2 separate regions of the Homo sapiens genome follow, and region 1 is linked to region 2. The links are contacts of gene promoters, found by promoter capture Hi-C in blood cells and fetal thymus (Javierre and others, 2016). All regions are on one chromosome and are shown on one strand. The core of a region is centred on a gene start or on the middle of the fragment in contact, and the rest is flanking DNA. Distances in the headings are between cores, read along the strand shown. Region 1 has its middle 73 kb from the start of LINC02132. Region 2 holds the start of FBXO31 (F-box protein 31).

Region 1 (3,600 bases), core at 741-3,240, 1.4 Mb before region 2:
CATTAAAGTAATACCAGTCTCATAAAATGAGTAGGAAAATATTCCCCCCCTCTTCAATTGTTATGAATAAATTTGTGAAGAATTGACATAATTTCTTCCTTAAATATTTAGTAGAATTGATAAGTGAATCCATTTGAATCTGATGCTTTCATTCTGGGAAGGGTTTTAACTGCAAAAAGCCTGTCTTTAATAAATGTATGGATATTCAGATTTTTTCTTTGAGTGAGCTTTGTTTGTGTTTTTCAAGAAATTTGTCAGCTTCACTCAAAGTGTCAAATTTATGGAAATTGTTTATAATTTTCCCTTATTATACTTCTACTATCTGTAGAATTTATGTTAATGTTACCTCTTTCATTTCTAATTTTGGTAATTGTGTCTTCTCTTTTTTTTTCCTTGTTAGTCTGGTTAGAGGTTTATTAATATTATTGATCTATCAAAGAACCAGTTTTGGTTTCTTTGATTTTGGTATTGTCTTCTAGTTTCTATTTCTTTCATTTCTGATCTTATCTTCACGATTTCCTTCCTTTTGCTTGTGTTGGTTTTACCCTACTCTTCTTATTCTGGTTTCTTAGGTGGAAATCAGGTCATTCATTTGGGCACTTTTTTCTTTTTATTAGATGGGTTGGATGCTCTACATTTCCCTTGAAGTTCTGCCTCAGTATCATTACTCAGATTATGATACGCTGTGTTTTCATTTTCATTCTCTTTAACATACTTTCTAACTCCTATTTTCATTTTTCATTTGACCCATATGTTATTTAGAAGTGTGTTAATTGCATTCTAAATCTTAGATTTTTCTGGAGATCATTTTGTTATCAAACATTTTAATTTCGTTGTGGTCAAAGAAAATACATCGTATGACTTAAATTATTTTGAGTTTATTAAAACTTGTTTCATGACTCAAATATTGTTTACTTTGGTAAACATTCTGCATGCACTTTCAAAGAATGTGTGTTATGCTATTGTTGGATGGAGTGTTGTATGAATGCTGGTAGATCGCATTGTGTGATAGTGGTGTTTAGGTCTTCTGTATCCTTGCTTATTTTTGTTATTCTGTAAATTACTGAGAGAGGGGTGCTGAACACTCTGACAATAGTTGTGAAAGTGCCAGTTTTCTTTGCAGTTCAGTCATGTATTTCAAAGCTTTGTTATTAGGTGGATAATACATAGGCTCATATGGCCTCTTAATGAATAGACCCCTTAATCTTTATGAAATGGCCCTTTCTCCCTGGTCATATTCTTGCTATAAAATTTACTTTGTCAGATATTAATACGGCCACTCCTGCTGTCTGCGGTGTTAGCATAACGCTGTGTCTCTCCTGGCCCTCCCCACCTGCCTGTGGCACTTTTAACCTATTTGTTTCTATACATATTTAAAGTGAGTTTCTGATAGTCAGACTAAAGCTGGGTCCTGCATTTTTATTCAGTCTCACAATATCTGCTTTTTCAGTGTTTAGGTCATTTATTTTAATATAATTGTTGACATGGTTGAGTTTCAATCTACCAATCTGGAAGATATTTTCTATTTGTCTCTACTGTTCTTTGTTCCTTTTTCTTTCTGCCTTCTTTTAGATGGAATATTATTTTAATGGTACACTTATCTCCATTGCTGGCTTATTAGCTTTAACTCTGCTGTGTTATTTTAGTGGTTTGTTGTATGCATATCTAACTTATCACAGCTTACTCTCAAATGTTCTTCCACTGCTTCCCATATAGTATAAGAAGTCTTTCCTTCTTACCTTTGTTCCTCTTTACCTAATATTTTTTCCCCCTCTGGTTGCCTTTAAGATTTCATCTTGATCACTAGTTTTGAGTAATTTGATTATCATGGCCTTGTGGTTTTTTTCATTTCTTCTGCTTGATATTTGTGGAGCTTCTTAGATCTGTGGGTGCTGAGTTTTCATTACATTTAGGGTTCTTTTTTTTTTTTTTTTTTGAGATGAAGTCTCGCTCTGTCGCCCAGGCTGGAGTGCAGTGGCGCCATCTCGGCTCACTGCAAGCTCCGCCTCCTGGGTTCACACCATTCTCCTGCCTCAGCCTCCTGAGTGGCTGGGACTACAGGCGCCCACCACCACGCCCAGCTAATTTTTTTGTATTTTTAGTAGAGATGGGGTTTCACCATGTGAGCCAGGATGGTCTCGATCTCCTGACCTCGTGATCCGCCCTCCTCGGCTTCCCAAGTGCTGGGATTACGGGCAAATTTAGGTATTTTTTAGACATTTCTTTAAGCATTTTTTTCTATACCCTCCTCCCCATCCTAAGGGCCTCCAATGACACATATGTTAGGGTGCTTGATGTCCCACACCTCACAGATGATCTGCTCACGTTTTTCAGCCTTGTTTTTTTTTTTTTTTCCCTTAGACAAGGTCTCACTCTGTTGCTCAGGCTGGAGTACAGTGGCACAACTACGGCTCACCGCAGCATCAACCTCCCAGGCTCAAGCCTCCCACTTCAGCCCTCTGAGTAGCTGGGACTGTCGGTGCACACCACCATGTTTGGCTAATTTTTCTAGTTTTTGTAGAGATAGGGTCTCACTATGTTGCCCAGGCTAGTCTCGAACTCCTGGGCTCAAGCTATCCTCCCACCATGGCCCCCCAAAATGCTGGGATTACAGGCGTGAGCCACTGTGCCTGCCCCATTGCTTTCAGTCTTTATTCTCTCTGTGTATTATTCAGATCGTGTCTCTTTCTATTGTCTTCAAGTTCACCAACATTTTCTCATGCACTTTAGAAAAGAGGGCATGGAAGAAATCATATCCTAAGTGGATAGTCAAGGAGAAGGGGCTTGGTGAAGGCCCTGTCTGGACACCTTATTTGTTAAGGTGTCTTCATTAAGGTTAAGCTTGCTGATGCTAGCTGGCCATGGAGAAGCTGCAGATTGGCTGTCCGGATGTGTTTTTAGTGGCGTTTCTAGTGAAGCCAGGTTCTGAGTTGCATGCAGGAAACCATCATCCTCAGCAAAGTAACACAGGAACAGAAAACCAAACACCGCATGTTCTCACTCATAAGTGGGAGTTGAACAGTGAGAACACATGGACACAGGGAGGGGAACACCACACACTGGGGCCTATCAGGGGGTGGGGGACAAGGGGAGGGAGAGCATTAGGACAAATACGTAATGCATGCAGGGCTTAAAACCTAGATGACGGGTTGATGGGTGCAGCAAACCTCCATGGCACATGTACACCTATGTAACAAAGCTCGACGTTCTGCCCATGTATCCCAGAACATAAAGGAAAATAAAAAAATAAAAATACAAATAAATAAATAAAAGAAGAAGGTAGAAATAGAATCGGGGTAGGGGGTCTCGTAGCAGACTCACACACCTGCAGGGAGTTTGGAGGTCACGTCTCTCATCCCTTTGTTTTAGATGTAGTTAACCCCAGCTAGTGCTCATTAAGTGCTTGCCTCCAGCAACTCTCGAATCCTCATAACAAGCCTATTATAGGGGACTCTTATACCTATTTTGCAGGTGATAAAACTGAGGCACAGAGAGGTTGAGTAACCTGGTCAAGGTCATTCAGTGAGAAGCACCAGAGCCCGGATCTGAGCCTTGGTGGTCTGGCTCTGAAGCCCCTGTTTTGATCCACCCCACTGTCTG
Region 2 (3,417 bases), core at 14-2,513:
TGTTACATCCAATATTGCTGAAGGCAAAAGTCCAGCCCGCACCGCTGTGATCCATCCGTCTCTCTACGCCCCCACCATCAGGAGCCCCCGACACTGGGCTTCCCCTACTCCCGTAATTTTTTTTGTTGCTGTTGTTTGAGACCAAGTCGCACTCTGTCGCCTAGGGTGGAGTGCAATGGCCCAGATGTTGGCTCAGTGCAACCTCCGCCTCCCGGGTTCAAGCCATTCTTCTGCCTCACCCTCCCGAGTAGCTGGGATTACAGGCGCCCGCTACCACGCCCGGCTAATTTTTGTATTTTTGTAAGTAGAGACGGGGTTTTACCATCTTCACCAGGCTGGTCTCGAACTCCTGACCTCAGGTGACCCGCCCGCCTCGGCCTCCCTAAGTGCTGAGATTACAGGCGTGAAACCGCGCCCGGCCTGCTCCCATTTCTTCAAGTTCACCTCGTCTCTGGTCAGGGCCAGCGGGGCACCCTCGGCTCGCCTTCAAGACAGGGGCAGAGGAGGCGGCCCCCAGGCGTCAGCTTAGGCCCCGCGCAGACCTCGAGGGATCCCAGCCCCAGCTCCCGGCACGGCCTCGGCCCCGTGGTGTCCCGTGCCCCGCGTCAGGGCCTCTTCGATGCCTCCCTGACGCCCTCAACCCCTCCCTACCCCGTCTGCCTCTCTTGGACCCCTCGGACCCTCCCTAACCGCCTCAAATACCTCCCTGGCCCCCTCAACGTGGTGTCACCGCGGCCGCTCCCCACCCACACCCAAAACACCACATCGCCGGGCCCCGCGCCCAACTGGTGGCCCCCGGCCGGGGCCACCGCCCCCGCCACTCCCAGCTCCGAGGCCTCCACCTGGCAGGGACCCCCCGCCCCTCCCGGCCCCGCCACCCCCGCGCGCTCACCCTCACGGCAACGCCTCCTCCAGATGGTGTCGGTGTGGAGGATGCGCCGGAACTTCGTGCAGACCTGGGCCAAGCTGGGTAGGTCCGTGCCCGGCAGCGACGCGAAGATCTCCACCAGCAGCTCGGGCGGCAGCTCCAGCAGCGAGCAGCGCGGGGGCGGCGGCGAGGGGCCCGCGCACAAGCCGCCCCCGACCCCGGCGCTAGCCTCGATGCGCTCCTCCTCGGGGTCTGTGTCCGGCTCGCTGTCGGCCGCCGCCGTCTCGGCCGGGCCCCGGCGCTGCTGGCGGCGCCGACATCCGCGCGACGGGCCCACGCCGCAAAGGCGAGCACACACCGCCATGCCGCCCAGTGACGGCCACTGCTGCCGCCTGTGCGCACGCTCCAGCGCGGCCCCGCCCCGCCAGCGCCGAGCCACGCCCCCGCCGCAGAGCTCGCCACGCCCCCTGGAGAGCCTAGCCCCGCCCCTACGTAGAGCTCCGCCCCGGCCGCGCCACCCCCTCCCCGCGGGGCGGCGACCTCAGAGACCCCGCACTGCTGCCCTCCCCTCCAGCGTGAGGGCGCCGCCCGTGACGGGCATGAGAAAAGAAAGTGGTGATGCCGAGTGCAAAACGTTAGACTGCCCCGTGTGAGGCTCGAACTCACGACCTTCAGATTATGAGACTGACGCGCTGCCTACTGCGCTAACGAGGCTGCTCGGCGACCACTTCGCGCCGCGGCTTTTGTGGAGATAGGGGTCGCCCCTCGCGCCCGTGCGTCCCGCTTCCGGCGCCCGAAACTGTGCCGCGCCGGCCGGTGAGTAGAAAGATGCGCCTTACAGCCTCCAAATACAGAGGCAGCAGCCAGAACCCCAAAGGGCGCCTAGAAGCCCTTTTGTCCATTGAAACAACGCGCGTTCCATCGTCTCCGCCTTATGGTAACCAAAAGGCCCGAGCTGCGGAGCTCTGCAGGGACCTTCGGGGATCCCGAGCTCCCTGCGGAAGCCCCGGGGAGGGCTTGGAGGGGCGGCGGCCGGCGCGGCCCAAGAGATCCGGGGATGCGCGCCCGGTCTGGAAAGGGAGGCCCTGCCATGCGGCGCCGCCCAAAGGGCGCCTGTTCCTGCAGCTGCTGGGAGCCGCGCACGCCTGCTCCAGCTGGGCTCCGCCGAGGCCGCTGAGCGGGGTCGTCTCCCAGGTCCGCGGGTGGTGACCGCGAAGGCGTCCTCTCACCTGAGCAGCCGCGCACGTCGCCGTGGGCTCGCCTCGGACCCCATCTCTTGGAGGCCCAGGCGGGAGTATCAATCGAGGCCAGGAGCTCGAGACCGGCCTGGGCAATACAGCGAGACCCTGTCTACAAAACAAAATTTTAGAAAGAGAAGCTGAGACGGGAGGATCGCTTGATCCCAGGAGGCCGAGGCTGTAGTGACCCGTGATGGTGCCACTGCACTTCAGCCTGGGCAACACAGCGTGACCCTGTCTCCAAAACAAACAAAAAACAAAAATAGCCACAAATGGCTGGGCGCGGTGGCTCACGTCTGTAATCCCAGCACTTTGGGAGGCGGAGAAGGGTGCATCACCTGAGGTCAGGAGTTTGAGACCCGCCTGACCAACATGGTGAAACCCTGTCTCTTCAAACAAACAAACAAACAAACCACACAGGCCAGGCGCAGTGGCTCACGCCTGTAATTCTAGCACTTTGGGAGGCCGAGGCGGGTAGATCGGTTAAGCCCAGGAGTCGGAGACCAGCCTACCCACATAGTGAGACGCCCCCATCTCTACAAATAATTTAAAAAATTAGGCCGGGCGCGGTGGCTCACGCCTGTAATCCCAGCACTTTGGGAGGCCGAGGCGGGCAGATCATGAGGTCAGGAGATTGAGACCATCCTGGCTAACACGGTGAAACCCCGTCTCTACTAAAAATACAAAAAATTAGCCAGGTGTGGTGGCAGGTGCCTGTAGTCCCAGCTACTCGGGAGGCTGAGGCAGGAGAATGGTGTGAACCCGGGAGGCAGAGCTTGCAGTGAGCCAAGATCGTGCCACTGCACTCCAGCCTGGGCGACAGAGCAAGACTCTGTCTCAAAAAAAAAAAAAAATGGTTTCAACTAATAACATCCTGCTATCTACCAGGGAGATCAGCCATTAAACAAGTAACCACATAGATAAATACATAAATTATAAATTGTAATGCTCTAACAATAAGTAAAACTAACAAGATCTTATAGCAGAGACCAGACTTTGGATGATCAAAGGTTCTTTGAGGAAATGACATTTATAAATCAAAGGAAAATTTGGAGTTAGCCAGGAGGAGAACACTTGATGGGAGAATGTTCTAGAAAAAAAGGATAGCGGCCAGGCCTGGTGGCTCACACCTGTAATCCCAGAACTTTGGGAGGCCAAGGCGGGCAGATCACCTGAGGTTGGGAGTTCAAGATCAGCCTGGCCAACATGGTGAAACCTTGTCTCTACTGAAAAAATGCAAAAATTAGCCGGGCATGGTGGCGGGCACCTGTAATCCCAGCTACTCAGGAGGCTGAGGCAGAAGAATTACTT

Evidence for each region. The method cuts DNA at HindIII sites, captures the fragments that hold promoters and counts their contacts. A CHiCAGO score of 5 or more calls a contact.
Region 1: a fragment that was not itself captured here is called in contact with the fragment with the promoter of FBXO31 in region 2 in 1 of 17 cell types (M0 macrophages); the score reaches 5.4 in M0 macrophages.

What each region holds. Positions count from the first base shown.
Region 1 is chr16:86,007,080-86,010,679 of GRCh38, forward strand. No RefSeq gene overlaps it. Among named protein-coding and RNA genes, the nearest start is that of LINC02132, 73 kb to the left of the region's middle. The HindIII fragment of the contact is 1,698 bases long and covers 1,142-2,839 here.
Region 2 is chr16:87,382,513-87,385,929 of GRCh38, forward strand. It overlaps FBXO31 (F-box protein 31), which reads right to left and starts at 1,264. Exons shown (of 9, transcript NM_024735.5): 1 at 893-1,264. The coding sequence starts at 1,232. TRM-CAT6-1 (tRNA-Met (anticodon CAT) 6-1) reads right to left here and starts at 1,582; the gene lies at 1,510-1,582. It overlaps LOC124903747 (a long non-coding RNA gene), which reads left to right and starts at 1,421. Exons shown (of 2, transcript XR_007065168.1): 1 at 1,421-1,684. RefSeq lists silencers at 620-859, 1,000-1,659 and enhancers at 1,067-1,720, 1,721-2,372. The HindIII fragment of the contact is 7,278 bases long and covers 1-3,417 here.